4 separate regions of the Homo sapiens genome follow, and regions 2, 3 and 4 are each linked to region 1. Evidence: promoter capture Hi-C in human tissues and cell types (Jung and others, 2019). All regions are on one chromosome and are shown on one strand. Each heading gives the region's core, a stretch centred on a gene start or on the middle of the fragment in contact. The rest is flanking DNA. Distances are from core to core; before and after follow the strand shown. Region 1 holds the start of CASP3 (caspase 3). Region 2 overlaps LINC02436 (long intergenic non-protein coding RNA 2436). Region 3 holds the start of ENPP6 (ectonucleotide pyrophosphatase/phosphodiesterase 6). Region 4 has its middle 7.0 kb from the start of LINC01093.

Region 1 (6,347 bases), core at 2,240-4,739:
CTGTGTTCCTCCAAAGGAAAAGTGAAGCCTGTCCAGCAGGACTTCTGGGGAGATTACACTTCTGTCAAACAACTTGAAAAATATCAGGATTATATTTATTACCTGTCAGAGAGGACAAAGTCTCAAAAGCAGTCACGTTTCCAGATTTAGCAAATGAAACAGAAAGAACATCTGTTTCACAATAGTTTGGACAAGAAAAGACTTCAGTTGTGATGTACCAGAGGTTTTATCAAAATCTTTTCCCATCTGGTCTCTGAATTCATTTGAGTACGTATAAGAATTATCAAACTGGCGATTGTAACTGGGCCTGGTGAAGTCAATCTTTTAATATTTGTTATGTAATTAAGGTAAAAATATGAGAACAGGAATGTAAAATCAAATACAGAATACATTGAAATAAGTTCCATTGTACTATACAAACAAACCATCCTTTCCTTTCCTCTGGCAAGGGCCACGTGACCAGGAAGACAGTACAGAGCACTCTCCACTATTCAAAGCCTCTGAGTTTATGACACAAGTTAGAAAGAAGGGCACTTAGTATGTGCAAACGATCTGTCTTCCCTGTGCCAGGTGAAGTCCTAAGATGGTGTTTTTGGAAGGACAAAAGGAGAAAATGGGAAAGCCTTCACAGATCTAAATGATTTGTATGATATAAGTGTAAAATGGAGGATCTCGGATGCCTTTTTATAAAAATTACAGATGACTTTAAAGCCTCAGCACTCCCACCAAGGATGACTACTTTGCAGAATCAGATTCAAGTTTAAAACCGCTTGAAGAAATCCTGCTGTCAGGAAGACTGAAACTGCCAAAACTCAGATTCAGTAGCATTTATTCATTTGATATTTGCACCATAACAATTTACTGAACACCAACTGTGTGCAGAGTACTATACTAGACCCTGAGTGTATCAAGCAGTGGAAGAGACAAACCCTATCTCTATTCAGGGCTTATACCGATGCTCACTGGTATTCAAAAGTGGCTCAACAAGGCAGATGCCAGACCGTGTCCAATACATATCAGGTAGCTTGATTTCATTATTGTAATGCAAAGAAGCTCTACAGGCAACATGTGAAGGTAAGAACAAAACATGCAGAGAAAGAATATTATATAAATCTAAGAATTCTCCCATCTTTGTTTAGGCCCAAACACCAGTGCTTCTTATCTTTGGGGCAGAGCTTAAAGATCTAATAGTAGGCACCAGAAGCAATGTAATATATCATTCATCAAAATAAAGACTGCTTTGTAGGGGGATGAAGCAGTAGGAGATTGTGTTAAACGAGGTTTGAAAACAAAACAGTAAAGAAGCATTATAATTGCCTATATCAGATGCCAGTCTCTTCAAATGGCAAGAGGCAAGGCCTTTATTCAGGATAGCAAAAGCAAATCTGATTTAACTAGGTACAATGTCTAATGTCTCTTACTTTGAACAGGTTTTATTGCCATACTCCAATAAACTGTTCATCCATTCACTAAAATAATTTTCACTTTCAAAAACCTTCTTTTGCAAAAAGGCAAAGCAAAACCAAAGTCCAAGCATCGGGCTGTGATAGAGATGATTTAAGCTTTATATTTCATTTTTAGAGATTATGTAACCACAGCACGCACATTCACAGTGGCTGAGCCCATTTTGATACAGTCTGGTCTAACCACCTTGCCTGGCCCTCTTTCAGCTATCTTGCAGGTTTACATCGTTTCAGTGACTCCGTATGTCACCTCTACCATTTCTTTTCTAATTATTATTTGCTGAATAATCCTAAACCAGGTCTACTTTTTCTAGATAGGGCATAAAAGTAAAAATACAATGGATGGGCATTCACTGTGTTATGCCAGGCCCCGCATTTGGGGCAAGACACTAAGGATACCAAGATAAACCAAGTCCGTCCCTCCTGGAGTTTGCTTGCAAATCTAGCAGGGAAGATAGTAAACAAGCAACTGCAAAGGATATGACACATCTCTCTTAGGGAATGCTGGCTGCAGAAAGAACACAGCATAGGAAGATTTAACCTTAAACTGTTTAATGAAAACAGAAATTTAAGTAGCAGCTCTTCTAATCAAATGTGATGGCGGGAGAAAGGGAGTGCAGAGGTGTTGCAGGCAGACACTAGGTATGAAGGTCAGCATTGCCGTGCAGAAATCGAACCGGTGCTAAAGATAAGGAGGGGTGGGGGCACTCAGGACCCAACACACGCAGGGGTTTGTTAGCCATATTAAGTGCTGGGTTTAACCTAAGGGCAAAGGACGAGCTTTCTAGACTTTCATTTCATAAAGATCCCTCTGCCTGTGCTGTAAAAAGTGGACTGCAAAGGAGCAGGCGGGTCTGGAAGTGGAGAGACCAGGGAAGAGGCTGCTGTGGTCAGACGGCTGAAATCAGAGATAGAGAGACGCGGACAGATCTGGCAGACATTTACAAGGTCGACAAGGCTTGGCGACTAAGCAGGAAAAGAAGTGGGTGGGCGAGAGGGGGCTGCGAACGATGTTTTCCGGTTTCCTGCTTGGGTGCCACTTACTGAGAATGGGGGAAGAGGCAGGTGCAGGGCACACCCACCGAAAACCAGAGCGCCGAGTGTGAGCAGGGCTCGCTAACTCCTCACGGCCTGGGATTTCAAGGCGACGCCAACCAGCTGTGGCCACGGATACACAGCCACAGGTATGAGCTGCGAGCACTCACGAAACTCTGCAGGGCCGAAAAGGAATTGGAGTTTAAACCCTGCAACTATCTCTCTGGAAGAGCTAAACCACATTGTCAACCCGGGATAATCCAGGCCCCAGGCATGGAAGGCAGCAGAGACGGAAGCCTCGTCCAAAATTGGAAGGATCAGCCCCCAGGGCGAGTATCTCACAGTCAGCACCCGGCCGCCCCAGCCCTCGCAGCACCGCTTCCCGGGGCCACTCCTCCGCCGGCGGTAGCGCCGTCCGTTTCCCAGCTTGCCGCTGCCTTCCGCCGCCTGACCCGGCCTTCCGGCACTCGGCCGGCCGCCAGGTCTCCCGCCCTCGGAGCTCGGTGCCCCGTGCCCGACCTCCCGGCCCCGGGCTCGGTTCCCCTGGCCAGGCCTCCCGCTGCCTGGCCTCCCCGGCCCGGCCTCGCGCTGCCCGGCCTCCCCGGTCCCAGCCCAGCCTCCCGCCCCCGGGCCAGGTCTCCCCTCCGATGACCTGAGGCCTTTCCTTAGGTTACCCCCAGGTCCCTCTCCCTAAATCAAAAGCCTTAACCCGCTGCCTGGCTTCCCCGGCCCCGGCCCAGGCTCCCGCCTCCGGGCCAAGTCTCTCGCTCCGCGGGCTTCACTGCTCGCCCCCGCCCGGGCGAGGTGGCAAAACAAACACTCCGCCTTCCAGACCGGGCAGGTACCCGGGCGGGCGCAGGGCCTGGGAGAACGCAGGGAGCGGGGGCAGGGCTGACGGCCCGGAGCGAGGGCGGCAGTCACCGCACAGCCTCCTCATACCTTCTACAACCGCCTCACAATAGCACCCATCCGCTAGGAGCCGCGTCTGCACTGCTTCCGCGGCCCGCCGCCGGGAGATGTGCTCCAGCGCCAGCCCCGCCTCCCGCCCGCCCCTGTCGGCCCCTCGCGCCGCCTCCGCTGCGGCCCGTCCCCTAGCTCCCGCCCGCCCGAGAACCCAGCCCCAGGCTGGGCCCCAGGAGGCGCCCGCCCACCGCAGCGCGCCCCGCCCCCGCGCCCCGCGTCCTCACGCCCTGGTCCCGCCCTCGCGTCCCGCGCCAGTCCTCCCGCTTTGGTCCCGCCCTGAGGCTCGGCCCGGCTCCCCCGCCCCGGATTTGAAATCTAGGTCTTCCTGAGAGTCCGCGGGCTTCCGCTCCCAGCGCGGGATTCTGGAGGGAAATTGAGGGAGACTTGGAAACCGCGCCAGGCCCAACGGGTACCTAGAAGGGAGACAAAGCCAGGCCTGCTGCCCAGTTTGAGCTCTGGGAAGAAGAGGAGCAGGCCGGGACGCCCACCGGTAATTTCTGTCTCCTCTGCGATGACCTGAGGCCTTTCTTTGGGTTACCCTCAGGTCTCTCTCCCTAAATCAAAAGCCTTAACCTCCTGTCATCAGGGTGCCAGGCTAGAAATAACCAGGTCCACGCATGCTGTGTTTTCCACCATGTCAGGCTGCTGTGGACGCTCTTTCGATCACAAAAGCCACGAGCTGCGTGGAGTTCCCAAGGAGGCAGTTCTCAGCACTTGCTGGTCACTGGGTAGTCAGAGCCTGACACACAGGCTCAAGCCGCTCACGCATCATAGTAGTGTACTTAATCCACATATAAATGTTACAAGTTAAGCATCCCACAACAAAGTAGCATTTAACATCATGAGGAAAAAGAGATGGGGCAAAGAGATTAACGAACCAATCCAGAGGGAGTGAAGAAGAGGAAAAGAAGCCTGGTTTGGGCCGAGAGGTCCTTCTGCAAAGACGGCGTCAATTAAGCCGGCTGTTGGGAGCTGCCGAAGGCCCCATCTTTTATAGTCACAGAGTCCTGTGGTGAGAACTGGTAATGGAAGAGAGTGCTTGTTTGTGTCCTTACCTGGCTGGATGCGGACTATTTTTTTATTTGTTTATTAAAGTATAGTATGCTTGTTGGCAAATGCCTTATGAAATGTAAAAATGGGGTCTTCTCCTAAGATGGAGTTATTAATGGTTACGTCAATGGTGTGCTATATACACTGCCCTACCGATCCCCTTCCTATTTTGGGTCGTGAACTCATTTCAGACCCTGAAGCAAACTGTGAATCATTTTCGCAGAAGAATTCACCAACACATGTGAGCACGACATTCTGCATCAGATTTCAAAAAGTTCTTGACATTCAGAAGTCAGATTCAGGGACCCCATGGCAGAGCCTGTTTCTAACACTTGCGCCTATTCGACTATAGGGACTATATTCTGCACAGAAATATACTTAGTTTTATATATGGTTACCCCTTGCTGAGTTTATTGCATGCTTTTACATTTTCATAATACATTTGTTTGTTTCAGCCTTTCAACAATCCCTCGGGATAGGAATTCCAATTTAAAGAGGATAAGGTTTAAAGAGGTTAAGGCCGAGTTTAAAGAGGTTAAGTCCCGGCGCGGTGGCTCATGCCTGTAATCCCAGGACTTTGGGAGGCCGAGGCAGGTGGATCACGAGGTCAGGAGTTCGAGACCAGCCTGGTCAAGATGGTGAAACCCTGTCTTTACTAAAAATACAAAAAAAATTAGCCGGGTGCAGTGGTGGGCACCTGTAATCCCAGCTACTTGAGAGGCTGAGGCAGGAGAATCGCTTGAACCCGGGAGGCAGAGGTTGCAGTGAGCTGAGATTGCGCCACTGCACTCTAGCCTGGGCAACAGAGCAAGACTCTGTCTCAAAAAAAAGAAAAAAAAGGGGTTAAGTAGTTTGCTGTTGCTAAAAAGACAGTCACAGGAGTTAAACTCAGATCCCACAAATAAGACTTAGGCCTTTCTTTATCCCTCCTGAATTGAGTGAACACCAATGTTTGACAGTCCTTTTTCTGCCTCAATAAAACTGAGAAATAGGACCCACTCCCAACCTTAACAGTGGCTCTGCAGAGCAGTAATTTGCAAAGAGGGGACTAGTGTGGTTGAACTAGTCCTTATCCTATTGTGATGCCCAAACCCCTTCCTGTGCTAAACTTTCTTGCCAAATTAGCAAGCATTAGCAGCAGTTTTCTGGTTTCCTGTAAATCATACTAATTTACTTAGTCTGTGAACTTTTTTTTTTGAGACGGAGTTTCACCCTTGTTGCCCAGGCTGGAGTGCAGTGGTGCAATCTCGGCTCACTGCAACCTCCGCCTCCCGGGTTCACATGATTCTCCTGCCTCAGCCTCCCAAGTGGCTGGGATTACAGGTGCCTACCACTAGGCCCAGCTAATTTTTGTATTTTTAGTAGAGATGGGGTTTCACCATGTTGGCCAGGCTGGTCTCGAACTCCTGACTTCAGGTGATCCACCCACCTCGGCCTCCCAAGTGCTGGGATTACAGGCGTGAGCCACCGTGCCCAGCCAAACATTTTAATTATAGCCAAACAGTAGGCTGGAGGCAGTGTCTTCTGGCTGAAGCCAGTAATTTCTCTTTACAGAGGTATCCCAGAGGTGACAGAACTTGATCTGGGCCTGGAAGGGGAAGAATTCGGGAAAAGCAACGTGGGGCATTCCAGGTAAGAGAAATGTGTGCTGGGTGCGGGGGGAGGTTTCTGGAGTGGCTCAGGAGAAAGCAGAGGTCATTATCAATTCATTTGGTGAGATGGTGGAAGAGTAAGAAATGAAATAGGTAAATGATTTAGGGCCAGATTCTGGAGGGGAGTTTAGACTTCGTGACGTTAGTTTACCTGTGTGAGTTGAATGTTGCTATGAATCATTAT
Region 2 (6,347 bases), core at 2,485-4,984, 450 kb after region 1:
AGGACAAGCTCTCTGGGAGATTGACCCTTTCCTCCAAGACAGGCCGAACCCCCCCTCCCCACTAAAGCACAGCTGAAACTACCAGGCAGACTGAGATTTAACCAAGATCAGACACTGAGTTGTTATTATTATTTATTTATTTATTTATTTATTTTTTGAGACGGAGTCTGGCTCTGTCTCCCAGGCTGGAGTGCAGTGGCTCGATCTTGGTTCACTGCAAGCTCCAACTCCTGGGTTCACGCCGTTCTCCTGCCTCAGCCTCCTGAGTAGCTGGGACTGCAGGCGCCCGCCCCCGTGCCTGGCTAATTTTTTGTATTTTTATAGAGACGGGGTTTCACCGTGTTAGCCAGACCCCGTGATCCGCCTGCCTCGGCCTCCCAAAGTGCTGGGATTACAGGTGTGAGCCACGAGTTATTATTATTTTTTAATTTTTTGCCGCTAGTCTGTGGGTGGGGGTGGCAGAGAGGTAAGGTGAGGATGGAGTTAGAAACAAGGCTAGATTAGTCACAGAAAAAGCATACATTTTATTACCACATTTAAGTTGTGAACAAAAGGTATACCTTTGTTCTACGTACTGTCCACTTTTTGCAATTGGCATAGCTTATCATGAGTGCATATTACTTTATCAATTAAAAAAAGCAGTAAAAGCATATGAAAGTAAATGTCATGAAAAGTACAAATAAATAGTGGGCAGATGACTAATAATTAAACTCTAAGAGAAATATTTTTAAAAACCCATGGGGGGCCAACCAAGAGATGTTGTAACTTGAAAACCACATCCAGCAGGTAAAATTAAATGAGGGGCAAAGAGAAGCACCATGATCCCATGAGGTCACTGAGGCGCAGGGAGGAACGCCTGGCTGCCAAGCAGTGCTCTGGACCATCGCCGTGGGTGTCAGTGAACCTCCCTGTAACATCTGGTTGAGGAGACAGGCAGTGGAGCCCCGGGGGCACACAGAAGGGCTCTGGCACCAGCCTGCTTTGGTTTGAATCTGCGCTGCCACTTACTAGCTCATGACTTTGTTAAGTTACTTAACCATTCTTTCACTCAATTTCGTCATATGTCACTTGAGAATAATAAAGTTAATTCATTCGTCATAGGGTTACCACAAGGATTAAATGTAAAGCCCTCAAAATTGCTCTTGGCCCACAAGAAGAATTTGGCTATTACCGTTACTTCTGGAATTGACTGAGAAAAGAAAAGATGCTGAGTTTCCCACCTTCTATGCTTAGAGAACCACCATCTCTTGTCTTGGGGCCAGCCATCTCCCCACAAAGGGGCCAGTCAGCAGAACGAGCATCAACACCTCCCCTCTCACCCAGTCTTATTGGGGTGGGGGTAGGGAGGGGCCAAGAAGATGGCCTGGGAAGCTGTGGCAGTCCAGCAGCAGGGCATCCAGACATCCCATTTCCTGGCTCCGCAGCAGCCTGGCCATGAGGCTCACTCGCAAGAGTAGGGAGAGGTCAGGGGGCATGGTTAGGGGAAGGAGGTGGCACCTGCAACTCCCGGCTCTGAGCAGTAGATGGTCTTGCGCATGCCTCCAGACCCCTCACCTGGGAGCTCCGGAAAGCAGAGAAAGTTGGGGGCACATAATCACCTTGTGCTGTAATGCATATGCTACATTACTGGAAAAACTCAAGTAAAATCTGTAAATGCGATATTAATACACCAGGCTGAAAATACACTCGGTCTTTGAGAGTTTACAGTTTAGAAACAATTATAATAGGGTATGGAGTGGGTGCTGTGAGAGAGTCAGGGAGGAGAGGAGGCATCTAGGTCAGATGGAAGAATGCAAGAAGGCTCTCTGAGGAGGCGACACTTAGACTGAACTTAAAGGATGAGTGTGAGTGAATGAGAAAAAAGGGAGGAGCATTTCAAGAACAGCACATGAAGGGAACTGGAGGCAAGAAACAGCACAGTGCATCTTAGAGCTTGTATGTGGTTTGGAGAGGCTGAGATGGAAGGTGGATGTGCGGGGGTGAAGGGAGACGAGGCTGGAGAGGAAGGCCATACCCAGAGAATGCAAGACCTGGCATGCATGCCAAAGGGTTCTAATCATATTTGCAGTTTCGAAGGGTCATACAGGCTGGGCACTGTGGCTCATGCCTGTAATCCCAGCACTTTGGGAGGCCGAGGCAGGTGGATCACCTGAGGTCAGGAGTTCAAGACCAGCCTGGCCAACATGGTGAAACCCGTCTCTACTAAAAATACAAAAATATCCAGCCTGGGCAACAGAGCGAGACTCTGTCTCAAAAAAAAAAAAACAAAAATAATTAGCTGGACCTGGTGGTGCACACCTGTAATCCCAGCTACTTGGGAGGCTGAGGCAGGAGAATCGCTTGAAGCCAGGAGATGGAGGATGCAGTGAGCCAAGATCACGCCACTGCACTCCAGCCTGGGTGACAGAGTGAGACTTTGTCTCAAAAAAATAAATAAATAGAAGGGTCATACATCCAGCAGTATTTGAGGGTCCAGCAATATGTAGGGGTGGGCAGACTGGAGGCAGAAAGGGCAGCTAAGAAGCTACTGCTGTAGTCCAGGCAAGACAAAACAGTGTCTGCTCAAGGTAGAGACGAGGGAGAAGACAGGAGAGATGATAAAGCAATAGATTCTGTACTACTTGGTGGCTTGTTAAGTGTGAGTTGAGGGAGAATGGGAGTCTAGGTTACTTTGTTTTCTGATTTGTACAGACACTAAGATACAGAAGGTAGAGGAAGTGGCACAGGTTTTGAATGTGGTGAATTTGAGATGAAGTTTATAGTAGATATATGTGGCTGAAACTCAAAAGAAATGTCTGAGGCTGGGCATGGTGGCTCACATCTGTAAACCTAGTGCTTTGGGAGGCCCAGGTGGGAGAATTGCTGGAGGCCAGGAGTTGGAGACCAGCCTGGGAAACATAGGGAGATCTCAACTCTACAAAAAACAAAAACATAAAAAATTAGCCAGGCATGGTGTGTGCACCTGTAGTTCCAGCTACTTGGGAGGCTGAGGTGGGAGGATTGCGTGATCGCAGGAGTTTGAGACTGCAGTGAGTTGTGTGATTGATTGTGCCACTGCACTGTAGCCTGGGTAACAGTGAGACCCTGTCTCAAAAAAAAAAAAAAAAAAAAAGGTGGGGGCGGGGAGAGATAGAGGGAGGTCTGAGCCAGATATGTGGGCATGAGAGTCATCCTCACAGAGGTGATGTTGGAGCCATGATGTGCCCGACAGCACGTCTAAGAACATATACATGAGAAGAGTAACTGGGCCATACAAGCATTTAAGATGTGAGAAACTAGACCCCATCAAGGAATCCGTGAAGGAGAAGCCAGAGAGAGAAGAAAACCAGGAGATTGTATCATAGAAGCCAAGAAGAAAAAAATGCGTGGTTTTAGGAAGGAGTGAGTGGACAGTAGAGTTTAATGTTGCAGAGAAGTCAAATAAACTAAGGACTGGAGGGTGGACATTGTCACTGGACACCTTGGAGAGAGCAAGTTCAAGGGCAAAGAAGCCAAGCCACTGGACTGAGCGGCAGTGAGAGAGTGGGAGGAGCAGCCTGCTCTTCAGAAAGAGCTTGCTAGGGGCTGGTGTGGTGGTTCACGCCTGTAATCCCAGCACTTTGGGAGGCAGAGGTGGGTGGATCACTTGAGGTCAGGAATTCGAGACCAGCCTGGCCAACATGGTCGAAACCCCGTCTCTACTAAAAATACAAAAATTAGCCAGGTGTGGTTGCGCACACTTGTAATATCAGCTACTAGGGAGGCTGAGGCAGGAGAATCATTTGAACCCACGAGACAGAGGTCTCAGCGAGCTGAGATCATGCCACTGCACTCCAGAAAGAGCTTGCCAGAAAGGTGGCATGTAGAAAGGAACCAGAAAAGGATGGACCCGTGAGGGTGAGCTGAGATGTAGAACTGAGAAAATGTTTATATGATGAAGTAAAAAGCCATGTTTGAGGAAAACAGATTTTAAGTGGAGAAGAGCAATGAACTGAGAATCAAGAAACTTGAGTTCTGGTCCAGGTTCTGCCAATAATTAACCATGAGATTTAGGAAAAAGTCACTTCGCCTCTCTGTGCCTCAGTTTCCTCCTCTGTCAAATGAAAGAGCTGACCTAGATCCAATTTTATTTAGCCAGAATGTTTTCTAATTCTGAGTCTCCTCAAAAGGAGGGAACTGAGTTATTTATTCTGAGAGGTAAAAGTATTAGCATTTTGTTGAAAACATCTTAAAGCTAAAAAGCTGTCACTTGAATTGGGCCATTCTTTTGCCTGCAGAACTCTGGCACATAAGTAAACACACATGATATAACTGCCAAAGTAAATTATGTTGAAATAACTTATAGTCTAAAATTGACAGATTGAAAGTAAATACTGGCAAAGTTTCCTTACTCCTTTGGGGGAGTCCATCAGAAATACTTGATAGTTAATTTGTCTCTGGGGAACACTTCTTAGTAGACCCTCAGTCATTCACCTCTGCCCTCTTGCTCATCCACTTTCACTTGGCTGGTTGACTTTTTACTGAATGTGCTTGAGCGGGTTTCCACTCTACATGTTGTGAGCAAGATTCACGTCAGCTTTTAGCTCTGGAAAGAGAGCAGTTGAGAAAACAGGGACCTGCTGTAGTATGAAATCCACCTGGTGACCACCACACTGAGAAACATGGAACCTCTGACCATCTACGTTACCAAAAGTTATACACAGAAAATAATTTCTGCCCAATGGAGAAGAACGTTTGGGTAATTTTGAAACTACAGCACCTGTTGAGGGACTGTGGAAAGCACTAGTCCTGTCTAACAGTGTCACTTTGCTGAGTATCCAATCAACAGCAATAGTTACAGGACAGTATTTAACAAATGTTACAATGTGCATTCCCTTAAACTAATTTACATAAATTTAAACATACTCCTCATTTGTGTGGATATTCTGCAACAAATTGAGATGCTTTTATAAATTGAGATACTTTTTGTTTGTTTTTGAGATGAGGTCTCACTCTGTTACCCAGGCTGGAGTCCAGTGGTGTGATCGTGGCTCACTGCAGCTTTGAACACCTGACTTCAAGTGATCTTCCCGTCTCAGCCTCCCGAGTAGCTTGGACTACAGGCACACCCCACCACACCTGGCTTGGGGTACTTTTTTGTCCAAAGGATATTATTTCTTTTCTTGCAACCCTACAGAACAAAGTGTCGTAATGATGTGATAATTTTTGCCTACATTTCAAAGAATTGCAATTATTTATTTGTACATATATTCACTAAGTTTCATATCAGTAACATAAGCTTATAAAGTCATACAGTAATATAAAATGTGAAGCAATCTATCATTTAATCAAAATTTCTAAAATTATTTTCACTGCATTTTAGAGTACTCTATGGGCAATGCACAATAAAACATTTGGGAGTCTATTCTCCTTCAAATCTTAACATACAAAATGTGTTTATGTTAGAAAAATTGCCAAAATGTGCTGCAACCTCACATTTAGATAGGAAAGGATTCCTATCTTCCAGTCATAAACAAAACCGAAAACATCAAGCAAAAGATCCTCCCCAAGCAGGTTTTAGCCATTATTTCACATAAACCAAGGTAAATACACTATATATCACGGGGCCTAGTCTCAGTTGAGGCTTGCAATTTCCTTTCCTCGTTCTATCTATTGGAAGAAAGAAAGATAATCCATCCATGTTGGACTATCCTGTCAAGCTAGCCTAAATCACTGCGGGCTGGAAATCTCCAGAGTTTTCTCCTCATGATTCAAAACCAGTACAGATACTAAGACAAGACTGAAAATCACCCTGACACGTAAATTAGAAAAGAAGAATAAAATTCTAAGAAAAGCAGCTGAGTGAGTTTTTGTCTCTCTTTTCACACTGAGCCTGCATACAATGAGGGGGCTGTCATGTCCTACTTGACCACTTAGGGCACTGCCTGGAGCCCTGGCCTGGGAGTCAGAAGCAGGAATCTCAAGGTCTAGCGCATAACTGACTAGCCATTTGCCCCTGGGTCCCTCTCTGGACTTCGGTTTCTCATATGCAATAAAATGAAGGGGTTTTATTCCATAACTGCTATGACCCTTAGCTCTCAATGGCACTGATTATCTCATTTTCTTTTTCACCAACTCAAGAAATAAGTGTCTTAAATTTGTCTCTAACTGACAACAGGGCCAGTGGTGGACTCGTAATCCATGTTTGTTGAGCTAACTAATTAGTTTGGGCCCTGAAAACAAGAGGGTCTTCTTTGGTAGCTATTTGACAAACTGTCACTTATGGGATCTTTCTCTTTCAGGAGGAGAAAATGTGTAATTGTAAGCAGCTGAACTAAAATATCTCTGTGACATTTTGCTGGTGACTCCAGCCCTGTGAGATCTGAGTG
Region 3 (6,347 bases), core at 2,657-5,156, 430 kb before region 1:
ATGGCAACCAAAGCCAAAATTGACAAATGGGATCTAATTAAACTGAAGAGCTTCTGCACAGCAAAAGAAACTACCATCAGAGTGAACAGGCAACCTACAAAATGGGAGAAAATTTTCGCAACCTACTCATCTGACAAAGGGCTAATATCCAGAATCTACGATGAACTCAAACAAATTTACAAGAAAAAAACAAACAACCCCATCAAAAAGTGGGCGAAGGACATGAACAGACACTTCTCAAAAGAAGACATTTATGCGGCCAAAAAACACATGAAAAAATGCTCATCATCACTGGCCATCAGAGAAATGCAAATCAAAACCACAATGAGATACCATCTCACACCAGTTAGAATGGCAATCATTAAAAACTCAGGAAACAACAGGTGCTGGAGAGGATGTGGAGAAATAGGAACACTTTTACACTGTTGGTGGGACTGTAAACTAGTTCAACCATTGTGGAAGTCAGTGTGGCAATTCCTCAGGGATCTAGAACTGGAAATACCATTTGACCCAGCCATCCCATTACTGGGTATATATCCAAAGGACTATAAATCATGCTGCTATAAAAACACATGCACACGTATGTTTATTGCGGCATTATTCACAATAGCAAAGACTTGGAACCAACCCAAATGTCCAACAATGATAGACTGGATTAAGAAAATGTGGCACATATACACCATGGAATACTATGCAGCCATAAAAAATGATGAGTTCATGTCCTTTGTAGGGACATGGATGAAATTGGAAATCATCATTCTCAGTAAACTATCGCAAGAACAAAAAACCAAACACCGCATATTCTCACTCATAGGTGGGAATTGAACAATGAGAACACATGGACACAGGAAGGGGAACATCACACTCTGGGGACTGTTGTGGGGTGGGGGGAGGCGGGAGGGATAGCATTGGGAGATATACCTAATGCTAGATGACGAGTTAGTGGGTGCAGCGCACCAGCATGGCACATGTATACATATGTAACTAACCTGCACAATGTGCACATGTACCCTAAAACTTAAAGTATAATAATAAAAAAAAAAAGAAAAAAGATTCAATGTTCCTGGCATTCAATTGTTTGATTCATCTTCATGATCATGATTGGCATTTTGGTTGCTTTTGTCCTGATATAAACATGTTTTGAGGCAAATAAATAATCAGCCATGGTGGCTTCATGGCAGCAACTGGGCTAGATGGTTTCAAGGTTGCTCACAAATAGGCCTGTTGATTCCCCATCCCCATCCACTGTGAAATTCTCTGTCTCAAGGGAGTTTCCGCTATTTGCATACTTTCTACACGAAGGCCTCCTAGGAGGGTCCAGCCCTAACTTTAAAATTACCTGTGCAAATAGCAAAGACTTTGAACCAACCCAAATGCCCATCAATGATAGACTGGATAAAGAAAATGTGGCACATATACACCATGGAATACTATGCAGCCATAAAAAAGAATGTGTTCATGTCCTTTGCAGAGACATGGATGAAGCTAGAAGCCATCATTTTCAGCAAACTAACACAGGGACAGAAAATCAAACACCACATGTTCTCACTCATAAGTGGGAGTTGAACAATGAGAACACATGGACACAGGGAGGGGGACATCACACACTGGGCCCTGTTGGAGGATCGGGGGCACAGGGAGGGAGAGCATTAGGACAAATACCTAACGCATGCAGGGCTTAAAATCTAGATGACGAGTTGACAGGTGCAGCAAACCACCATGGCACATGTATGCCTCTGTAACAAAACTGCACGTTCTGCACATGTGTCCCAGAATTTAAAGTGAAATAAAATAAAATAAAATTCCCCATGCATTGCCTAGTTCTATGTCTGCATCCAGCAGCACCTGAAATCCCGGCCTGATGCAGCCCCGGCAGTTCATCTCATTTTATTTTGCCTGAAGTCTCCAAGCAAGTTCTCCCAGCTCAAGGGCCAGCATTCTTTCCAACAACTCATCACTCCTCGTTATGCAAAGGGAAGAACACCAAGGGCTTTCTGTATTCTGAGCAATAATTCGGGTAATGAAGTGAGAGCTTAGCCTCTCTTGTGAATGCTGAGGAACCCTAAAACAGCATATCTTTTGCTTCCAAAAAGATCTAGCATAGCAATTTTGTTGGTTCATAAAATGCTCAAATGCTCAAACCATATGTTTAGCTACAATTCCCAATGGCTATATCCTTCTTTATATGAGTAAAAGAGGAGGTTTTCAGCATCAGGTGGAAAAATAAGTATGGGTATTGGGGAAAATAGTCTAAATTTAACTCTGAGTCAGTTCCAAGACAGTGGAGGTGATACCAGGTTCATGGCCTGGCATTTCCCAGCCTGCGAATTCTGCTTCAAGTCTGCAAGTCTGCCCAGTAGGTACAAGACAAATCATACCCAAGGACATTTGTACAGAAACATGAGCCTTGCTAGATCCCTCCCTTGTGCAGGGTAGCTTCTATGAAACATATAGACCAAGCAGACTTCCACATCAGTGAATACATTTGGCCATCTGAAAATACAGAGACTTAACACATATGGAGACCTGTGGCTTCCTCGGGCCAGCCTCAGTTTGAAAGCAAGGGTGAGATCTTTGTCAGACACTCACGGGACCTGTGCTGCCCATAAAGGAAGGGGCCCTTCTCTCAGGACAGCACAAGGGAAAACACCCACAGCCGGAAAAGAAGGTGTGTCTCAGCATGACGGAGGCTGTGTGCAAATTATTCCTTGTGCCAATATCAGGAGTGTGGATCTGACAAACAAAAGGCCATGTCATTGGCTTAGTGTCTCTGTGGAGTCTGTAATGGTCCTTTTACTTACTTGAGTCCTTTCTAAGATGGATTTTGTTCATTTTCCACTAAGATTGCAGAAGCTGCACGTGGCGTGGCAGTTTATGAATTGGGTCCCCTGGCAAGGCTCTGAAAGACAGCTGGAGTGGGGGTGGGCTGTGTGTGTGAAGCCGCTGCACAGAGCTGGAGTCGGCTGTCCACACAATCACGTCTATGTGAGAGCCGGCAGCCTGCAAACTGCTTCCCTGCAAGGGGAGACACATGCCAGGGGAGGGCCAGAGAATTTTGTTAATTCTGTTTATCTTAGAGACTGTTTTTTTGTCTGCTGGGGGAAATAAAAAACAAATACATAACTTCCTTGCTTGTGTGCAGTCTGATTTTTTTCTCTCTCTCATGCCCTCATTTTTATTTCTCCGAAGTATCTCTCCCCTTCAGTTTGGGGCATCAGTTTATGGCATTTTTCCGTACATGTGTATATAGTATCTATGCACAAAGTCAGAGATATAAATGTCTGTTTTAGACTCTTTTGGCTTTAGTGTTCTGTGGAGGTCCATGAGATATCAGAGATCTCATTTTCTTTCTGTTAACATAATTAGCAGAGCTCTCTCTGTGCTCAGAGTGCATAGCTGAGTCCCGCATAACCAGCAATAACAGTGCATTCTTAGCAGCCTCCCTGGATAGTTTGCTAAATTCTTTCTGAGAGCCTCTCGCTGCCTTTACAAAGGTTATAGCTGAAAAACAAACCAGAAACTGGGAATCCAACTCTGTGAGCAGAGAGAGGGCTGCACATTCTATTATCGCACGGATAGAGGCTCAGGTTCATGCAGTCGCGTTTGGAGTCCTGGCAATTTCAGATGAAGGCCGTCCTTAGGAAAATCAGCTATCCCAAGCCCAGGCAGTCTGGGTTAGCCGAGGTTTTTGTTTGTTTTGTGGAGTTTTTGCTGGTTGGTCTTTTGTAGATGCTGCAAATCACAAATGGGGAACCTGAACGACACAAGCTTTTTCTTCTCCGTATCATTTTACCTGGCCAAAAAGGCAAAAGAAGGGGAAGGTGGCATTGCTAAGTCACAGGGAAGGATATGACCTAAACATCCCCCCTTCCCCAAGTAATCCGGGAGCACCACTCCCCTCTGAGGACCCCACAGGTACTTTCACAGTCCAACACACTGAGAAACAAGCCCACAGGGTGCCAGGATGACATGACCACAGAGAAAAGGGACAGAAGGAGTTTGGGACACATGCACGGACACCTGTTGCTTTTGCAGACTTGAACTTAGAAAATATGAGCCTCATTAGAATTTCTCTTTCTAAAATAAACGACCACTTTTAATATCGTCAAATATCATGTACTGCTATAGTTCTCTGTCCTCCGCACTGAGAATCCAAAACAGGTCCTTGGGATAACTTTTGGGAAACAATACCGCCACGAAAACAAAAGTCTTCTCAGCCAAGAACACAGATTTTTTTTATCTACCTTTGATGTCCCAAAGGACTAGAGAATCCAGAGCATTTAAATAAGACTCCAATGCCAGGAGCTCACTGTTCCCTGCTGGATGCCAGCCCTCCCCTCCCTGCCCAGAAGAGGACATGGTACTCACCAGTCATTAGGGTATAATAATTGGGATACGAGAGACTAGGGAAGTCTGGAGTCAAGTAATCCACTTTTACTCCCCTGCTCACAATCTCTTTGAAACCAGGCAATGACTCCAGCGCCTCATCACTGATGTAGTCTGAGCGAAAACCATCCAGCAGAAACACCAGCAGCTTCCGGCGGGCAGAGGCTGGCTGGGCCAGGCCCAGGGCAAGGGCCAGCAGGAGGGTCCCAAGCTTCACTGCCATGCTGCCAGGAGCCTGCCAGAGCCCGGCTGGCACAGCTGTCGCCTTGCAAAGACTGAGGATGGAGAATCTGTAGCTATTCTCTCTTCCAGGGGCTGGACCTTGAGCCGCTGGCCTTCCTGAGTCAAGTTCACTTGCAGAATTTAAAGGAACAGCACCCCCTTTTCCACACATCTATGCTCACCCTTTACTAGAAAGTCCAGAGACCGACTCCTTCAGATAAACTGGGTTCCAAACAACCCAGAATTAACACCAGGGGAGAGAGTTCAAACTTATTATTTTTGGTGAACGTTCCAGAAATACAAGCACCCACAGAGGTGGAATTTTAGAAGATGACAAAGTCAACACTAACTTTGCAGTTGAGCTAACCAAAGGGAGGAACCAAGGAAAAGGGCAAGATTTTAATTTGCTGTTATCCCACATCATGGCCTCATTTAAACTCTTTTTCACTTAGAATTTAGTAACGCAAACCTCTGGACTCAGTGCATAAACAGGAAACAATACGTTTCGGTGGGCCCATTTGTAAACTTCCCAGCTGTGTCTCTGTAGACACAGCACTTAAAAAAGTTATTTGTCTATGTCTTGGCCACTTATGTTTTTATATGCAGTGTTATTATTTGTTATTATTTTATTTTTCAAATGTGATTTAGCTGCTGGTGCCCATAGGAGGAGGTGGTTCGTAGAAGAGCCCTAGAGCCAATGAGAAGCTTCCAGAGTTGGACAATGGGAAATCATTACTGGCAGAATGGTCTGAAGCAGCATTGCCCCAGGAGGATGGAAATGAAATAGAGAGCTGGAGATTGAGAGCTTGAGATGGAAAAGCAGAGCTAGAAATTACCATGCAGGCTTTGGGACCGAGAAGACTAGGCGGAGTGGAAAATAGGAGGAGGTTAGTGACAGGGAGGCAGATGTGAGCTGGGGAGCAGACAGAGTTAGCACAAAGTACCCAGAGTCCAGGGGTTCCCTAGAGTGGCTCCGTCATGCTACATAAAATTAAACAACACAATTCATGTGAAGGCTTATAAAACATGGCTGAGTGCAGTGGCCCACTTTGGGAGGCCAAGGTGGAAGGATTGCTTGAGGCCAGGAGCTTGAGACCAGCCTGGGCAACACAGCAAGACCCCATCTCTATAAAAAATTAAAAAATTAGCTGGGCCTGGCGGCACGTGCCTGGTCCCAGCTACACAGGAGGCTGAGGTGGGAGGATTGTGTGAGCACAGGTGGTCATATCTGCAGTAAGCTGTGATTGTATCACTGCACTCCAGGCTGGGCAACAGAGTGAGGCCCTGCCTCAAAAAAAAAAAGACATAAAACATGCATGGTCCATAGCAAGTGTTGAACAAATGTTAGATGTTATTCGCATTATAACATTGCTTGTCTCCTGAGGAAACTTGCAGGCTCTGGGCAAACTTTCCAGGGAAGGAAGATAGACACCAGCCACACCAGCCACTCTCAGTCAACCCCAAAATCCCTCTTCCACCTCTGCCCTCTGCTTGTGTCTTTTCTCCTTCTCTTTTTCTGTTGTATTTGAGTCAAGCCCAAACACAGGATCACCATGTCACTTTTTAAATTATGCTGCAAAAGAGAAACACATTGGCCAAATTACCACTCCCCTCTCAGGGGACTTGGCCAAGGATCAGAATTCTTTTTTCCAATAAGAGGTAATGCTTTTTATAATTAAATTTAAATTTTTTTCTTATTAAAAAATAAGGAAAAGGGGAGTTTATCCTAAAAGGTTGTT
Region 4 (6,347 bases), core at 1,378-3,877, 260 kb after region 1:
GCCCCAGCAGAGGCAGGACCGTGGATACCAATCCAGGAGTGTGAAGAACAGCATCTCTTGTCTGCACAATCCCTCAGCGGCTCCGCTGGGGACTTTGCTGCACTCAGTTTTTCTCACCTGCAACTTGTCAGACAGCATTCTCTTTTTGTCTTCATCGCTATTTTCATCAGAATTTGGAAGGAGCTATAGCTTATAAACACAAAATGGCAAAACAAAAAAATTTTAAAAAGAATTTGGAAGTGGCTGGATTTAGGACTGCTGGGTTGTTTCTTAGGTTCCTAACTTTGGGGTGACTTATTTTGAAAGTCACTTTATTGGGGCTATTCCCAATACTTGCATTCACCTTTGCAGACTAGCTTGAAAACATATATAATATTTGGAAAATATGCATACACTTAAGCAACAATTTTTAAATGTACACTTGGGAAACTTGTATAAAATCTGAGAAATGAATAAAACGTCAAGGAGGCAGAATATTATAGTAGTTTGGAGTAGGGATGCCAGGGCATGGGTTTAAACCCTGGATTTATCATCTTCTAGTTGGATGACCATGGAAACATACTTTCCTCCGGCTTCCAAATACATTCATCTATGTTATAATACCATTAGGAGGTTATATGATGTACAAGTAGGTTACCTGGGAAACAGACTGAATGGAAATTAGTCTGCAAGATTTTTACTGGGGGGTGCTTTTGGGATCTACTCCTTGTGGGGGAAGGCAAAGAAGCAAATTTGGACAGAGGGAGAAACTGGGTTGCAATTTAGTCTCATCAAAGGCCTCAGCTAACCCCATGAGAAGCTCTGAGCTTGTAGAACCTTTCAGAGTTATCCTGAGTTTGGATGAGGGGACCCTATCTTTAAATTCCCATGTGGATACAATGTCTTTGGGTACAAGCTGCCTCTGGGAAGGCAGTAAGTCTCAGGCAAAGTGGCTTCCTCCAGCCCAGAGCAACTCCTCAGGGGGACTGAGACTTGAGGGCTGTTTGCAGGCATCATGCCTGGCAGCTGGGGGAATAAGTCCTTCATTCAGAAATGAAAAACTGGGCAATGCAACCTAGCTGTCACTACAGTGAGACAATCTACACACCAGTCCACACACCATTTCACACACGCATGGAAGAATAGTAGAATCGACTGATGCATGATAACTTTCAAGTATTAAGGTCATTTCCTTACTTTCAAAGCACAAACAAAAATAGTGCATAATCAGAGAATAATGGAATCATACAAGCTGGGAGGCATTTTAAGGTTTATCTCCTCCAATTGCTTTATTTAAAGATGAAGAACAGAAAAATTTAATGACTTGCCCTAGGTCACGGCAGAGTCTAGATTTAAATTCAGGCCATTGGGCTTCAAGTTCAGTGCCCCCTCCACCATATTACGATAAAACACATTGTAGGCCAGGTATGGTGGCTCGCGCCTATAATCCCAGCTCTTTGGAAGGCCGAGGTGGGCAGATCACCTGAGGTCGGGAGTTCGAGACCAGCCTGACCAACATGGAGAAACCCCCATCTCTGCAAAAAATACAAAATGAGCTAGGTGTGGTGGCACATGCCTGTAATGACAGCTACTCGGGAGGCTGAGCCAGGAGAATTGTTTGAACCCGGGAGGCGGAGGTTGCGATGAGCCGAGATAGTGCCATTGACTCCAGCCTGGGCAAAAAGAGCAAAACTCCGTCTCAAAAAAAAAAAAAAAAAAAAAGAATGAAATTGTAATGGGAATAGCAAATAGATTTCATCTTTTATGCCGACTCTAATGAATTGGTAGTGACTGTCTAGATTAATATGTTGAGAAGAAGAATCAAATTAGAGGTTTAATAGAACCTAGACCCTCATTCTGGGTTCTATAAACTCCTTGGCTCAGAGATGAACACAAAAACGCCAACTGAGTTCAAAATGAGATTTCTAGAGAAAAGTGGACCACTATCCTAGAAGAGAAAATGCCAGACTTGGTTTAAGTTAAGCTTTAAATCTAGCTGGATTGCTTTTCTCTCCATGGAAGATGGTTCTTTGAGTTATATTCCCTCTTTCCTCATATGCAAAGCCATGGTGTTGTACCACATATTCATGGAAGCTTTTTACAGCTATCCTTTGAGTGTATCCAGAAATCCCTACTGATGAGATGAGTAATCTGGGTTGTGTCCTGGGGCCACTGAGAAGGTTGAGAGACATTTCCAGATGCCTGGGTGATTGCATGAAGGTGGGCGAGGGCACCCATCCTCATCCTTATTCCACATGGCGATATGAGGCACAGACTCCAGAGTTAAAGCCTACTGGAAGAAGACTGTAAAATATTTTTACTGTACCAAAAATATAAATTTTAAAAATTTACCATTTTAACCCATTTCAAGTGTACATTTCAGTGGTGTTATGTCCATTCACAACGTTGCACCAGCATCACCATCCATCTCCAGAACTTTTGCATCATCTCAAACAGAAACTCTGTACCCATTAAACAACTCCCAGTGTCCACTTTGCCCTAGCCACTGGTAACCATTTCTATCTCTGTGAATTTACCTATTCTAGGTGCATCATATGAGTGGAAACATAAAATATTTGTCTTTTTGCATCTGGCTTCTTTAATTTAGGATAATGTTTTCAAGGTTCATCCAAGTTGGAGCAGGTACTTGTACTTCATTGCTTTTTAAGGCTGAACAATGTTCCATTGCATGAGTAGACCACATTTTGCTTATCTATTCATCTGTGGATGGACACTTGTGTTGCTTCCCTTTTGGCTATTGTGAATAATGCTGCGACGAACGTTGGTGTGGGAATAATACTTTTTGCACCCAGTTCCTGCTTGAAAGCTTAGAATCATGACCTCCTTAGAGGCTACGTAGCACAGCTTCTCATGTTGTAGAGAAGGGAACGATGGCCCAAAAACACCAAACCTCTCGCCAGTGGCAGCCCTAAAAGAAGGCACCAAGGCCACAGCATCTAAAATGTGGGTTCACCATTTGGTTGAATCTTGGTAAAATGAATTCACCATTTTCGACAATCCATGTTCAGCACGGTTTCTGGCAGATAGGTATCATATGTCTTTAAAATAACATAACTTACTTTTACTAGATATCCAGTTTTGTCAAACCAAGTGGTCCAGTTACGTATTGTTTTATATCAAAGTACCCTAAAATTGCCATAGAACAGCAACTATTTTGTTATGCTCACCAATGCTTTAAATCAGAAATTTAGGCCAGAAACAGTGAGGATTCCTTATCTCTTTTCCACAGTGACCTGAATCCCAGCTAGGGAAACTCAAATAGCTAGAAGCAACTGGAACTGGAACAGCTGGTACTGGAACCACCTGAAAGTGTCTTTACTCATATGTCTCATGCCTGTGTTAGCATGCCTCAAAGCCTGGCCCAGCTTGGACTGTTGATCATAAACCCACAACTGACCTTTCCACATAATACTGAGCTTCCACACAGCATAGTGCAATTAGGGTACTCATACTTCTTACTTGGCAGCTCATGGCTCCAAAAATGAGGATTCGAGTGAACAAGGCAGAAATAGCTTGATTTTTCATGATCTAGCCTCGGCAGTCACATGACATCATTTTCACTCTATTAGTCAAAGATACACATGCCTGCCCATTTTCAAAGGGAGGGAACGTAAGCCCCACCTCTCATGAAGAAAGCATTAATGAATTTGTGGCTGTAATTTAAAACCATAACATTTAGTGAATATTGTCCCCTTGAAGTGGCCCTGTTGGGATGCCTTTTTGGAAAGCCAACTAGACTCTGCCGAATATCCTTTGGACTTGCTGCTGATGGTAAGTCTTCACCTTTGAAGGTAGAGCTGACTTGGGGGAACTCGAGTGATGGAGGGAGATGGATCTCTGGACATTCATGAATCACTTAGTGGAATACCAGTATGTGCTGGGCACTAGGGAGAGGTGCATCAATCTAGGGCTCAATTTTTAGTTAAAAACAAACAAACTTGAAGGGTGATTTCAGAAACTAATCAGATTGTCTTGTATGTCTAGTGATCAAATACTAGATTTTCCAAAGTACTACCTTAAAGCAACATTTATATCTTCAGCAATAACTGTGCCTTCACCCTACCCCAGCCCATGTCTGTGAAAGGTGGCCATCTTGTGGATAGGTAAGTTCTGGTGTGTTTGTTAAAAACAGCATCTCTCATGATTATGTAAATCATACTCTTCAGGGAGGCAGCAAGTTAACTGGACAAGAAGGATGTGATTCTGTGTGTTTTCTTCTGGATTTATCCAAATGGAGCTGGGTAATGGGAAACATGGACTGCGTGTTCTTTCACTCAAGCAAATCACACCAGATCTGTGATTTGTTCTCATGCTAAGGGTTGCACAGACTTCCCGAACACGGCCTCGGGACTCTTGTGTTTTAGGTAAGAATGCCTGTTCTGCCGACATTGGCCCTGGTGTCCTCACTTCCTGTCTATTTGGAGCTCTGTCCTAGAGGGCTGTCGTGTTACTAAGGCAACCAGCAGTCCTCTGTGAAACGTTCCTAATCTTTCCTGTGGAAACACAATTTCTGTCTGTGCTGTGTGATCCAACTTTTTACATTAGCCCATAGAATTTTAGCAGTGCTCAGGTTGAAGAGGCTAATTTCTACCTCCCAAACTAAGTGATACCCCAGAAGACAGACCAATGGGCAGAGTGTACAGGGATGGTAAACCCACACTTCCTGCCCCACCCTAAAAGTACTTGTCATCCCTGTGCTTTTCAAGAGAGCCCAGACTACCTCACACCTTCAGAGGACATTATGTCCTCTGAAGTCTTGGAGATCCACCTCTCCAAGAGAACTGTTTAATTTGACTATGTCTTCAACCACACCAACTAGGATCCTTATCCCTTCCTGTCTCTTAAAGGTGATAGAGTGGTCCAACCAATGTTCTGGGTATTATCCCTAAATGAAATAGGAGTCCCAGAAAACAAACAACTGGCAGTGTCAAGGGATGCCCTTTTCTAAGAAGGCCATCTAGCCAGCATGTTAGCCTGAGCCCTTGGCCTGTTGTGGTACCTCTAGAAAAAGATGTATTGCTGTAATAAGGGCACTGGGGTAAGAATAGAGTCCTGCCTGGCCTTACTCCACAACAGTTCATCCAAACACACAATGACATATGTGTTCATCTGAACACACAATAAAAATTGATGTGGAAGGCCGGGCGCAGTGGCTCATGCCTGTAATCCCAGCACTTTGGGAAGCCGAGATGGGTGGATCACCTGAAGTTAGGAGGTTGAGACCAGCCTGGCCAACATGGTGAAACCCCATCTCTACTAAAAATACAAAAATTAGCCGGGTGTGGTGGCGTGTGCCTGTAATCCCAGCTACTCAGGGGGCTGAGGCAGGAGAAACGCTTGAACCTAGGAGGCAGAGGTTGCAGTGTGCTGAGACCGTGTCATTGCACTCCAGCCTGGGCAACGAGAGTGAAATTCTTTTTCAAAGAAAAAACAAACAAAAAAAAAAGAAAGAAAGTTGATGTGAAGACACATCAATGAAATGTGTGTCCATCTGAATGTACAATGAAAATTGATGTGAACACACATCAGTGAAATGGCAATCATAACACTGACTTCACACGGTTGCTTTTAAAGTCCTTTGTAATCTTTGGTGCATTCTACAAGTTTTATTTAAATCTATAGGACTGTTCATCTTAAGGAAAGTATTAGCAAAGTTTTCTAAGGAAAAAAACAAGACAAAACCCCCAAAAGTTGTTTTTACAATTTAAACCTTCCAAAGAACAGGATAGTTGTGATTCTCATAGGCCTACCTGTTGGGGTGATCAGACCCAACACCAGGTCGTGGGGGTGACAAAGTCCGGCAGAGTCAAAGGATTGAGAAAAAGACAGTTTGAGAGAGAAAGGTGGGACCAGGGGGCCATCACTAGTGTATGGAGGCTGCGAAGTCCCCGAGCTGTGGGAGTCCATACTATTTATTGGTAATCCAACAAAGAAACAGGTGGTGAGAACGTGGAAGTCAAAAGGGCAGGTGCATGATCTACAGCTGTGATGGTTTAGCATGTATAAGGAACATGTTCTGCTACTTGAGATAATGGGAATACGAGCCTAGGAGGGCTAGCAGCAAGGAGCCAGCAAGTCTAGACACATTTCAGAGGACATTATGTCAGTCATGCAAGCCCTGCCTCAGTCTTTTTCCCAACACTCAGCCTTTTCCCAACATGCCCCATTTCTCTTTTTTGAAAACGAGAAGGTATCGTTATTACTATCCTTATTACTAGCATAAAAGGTGGCCTCTTTTAATTGAGCAAGACGATTGCAGGCTGTGCAGCCCTTAATTGCCAGTTGGTGATCCAGCTTTATTTTTCTTAGCTCTTATTGAAACTGGAGTCGCTCTGGTTTGAATACTT

The links. Contacts are between HindIII fragments. The study calls those that stand out against the background at their distance.
Region 2: a contact is called between a fragment that was not itself captured here and the fragment with the promoter of CASP3 in region 1, in 1 of the 25 tissues and cell types used here (lymphoblastoid cells).
Region 3: a contact is called between a fragment that was not itself captured here and the fragment with the promoter of CASP3 in region 1, in 2 of the 25 tissues and cell types used here (dorsolateral prefrontal cortex and spleen).
Region 4: a contact is called between a fragment that was not itself captured here and the fragment with the promoter of CASP3 in region 1, in 2 of the 25 tissues and cell types used here (liver and lymphoblastoid cells).

The regions. Positions count from the first base shown.
Region 1 is chr4:184,645,958-184,652,304 of GRCh38, forward strand. It overlaps CASP3 (caspase 3), which reads right to left and starts at 3,490. Exons shown (of 8, transcript NM_004346.4): 1 at 3,438-3,490; 2 at 2,508-2,674. It overlaps PRIMPOL (primase and DNA directed polymerase), which reads left to right and starts at 3,781. Exons shown (of 14, transcript NM_152683.4): 1 at 3,781-3,951; 2 at 6,066-6,143. RefSeq lists silencers at 2,998-3,207, 3,218-3,797. The HindIII fragment of the contact is 11,001 bases long and covers 490-6,347 here.
Region 2 is chr4:185,100,647-185,106,993 of GRCh38, forward strand. It overlaps LINC02436 (long intergenic non-protein coding RNA 2436), which reads left to right. Exons shown (of 6, transcript NR_174108.1): 6 at 6,261-6,347. Among named protein-coding and RNA genes, the nearest start is that of SLC25A4, 39 kb to the right of the region's middle. The HindIII fragment of the contact is 6,305 bases long and covers 583-6,347 here.
Region 3 is chr4:184,213,211-184,219,557 of GRCh38, forward strand. ENPP6 (ectonucleotide pyrophosphatase/phosphodiesterase 6) reads right to left here and starts at 4,663. Exons shown (of 8, transcript NM_153343.4): 1 at 4,369-4,663. The coding sequence starts at 4,609. The HindIII fragment of the contact is 5,376 bases long and covers 1,219-6,347 here.
Region 4 is chr4:184,903,330-184,909,676 of GRCh38, forward strand. No RefSeq gene overlaps it. Among named protein-coding and RNA genes, the nearest start is that of LINC01093, 7.0 kb to the left of the region's middle. The HindIII fragment of the contact is 5,170 bases long and covers 43-5,212 here.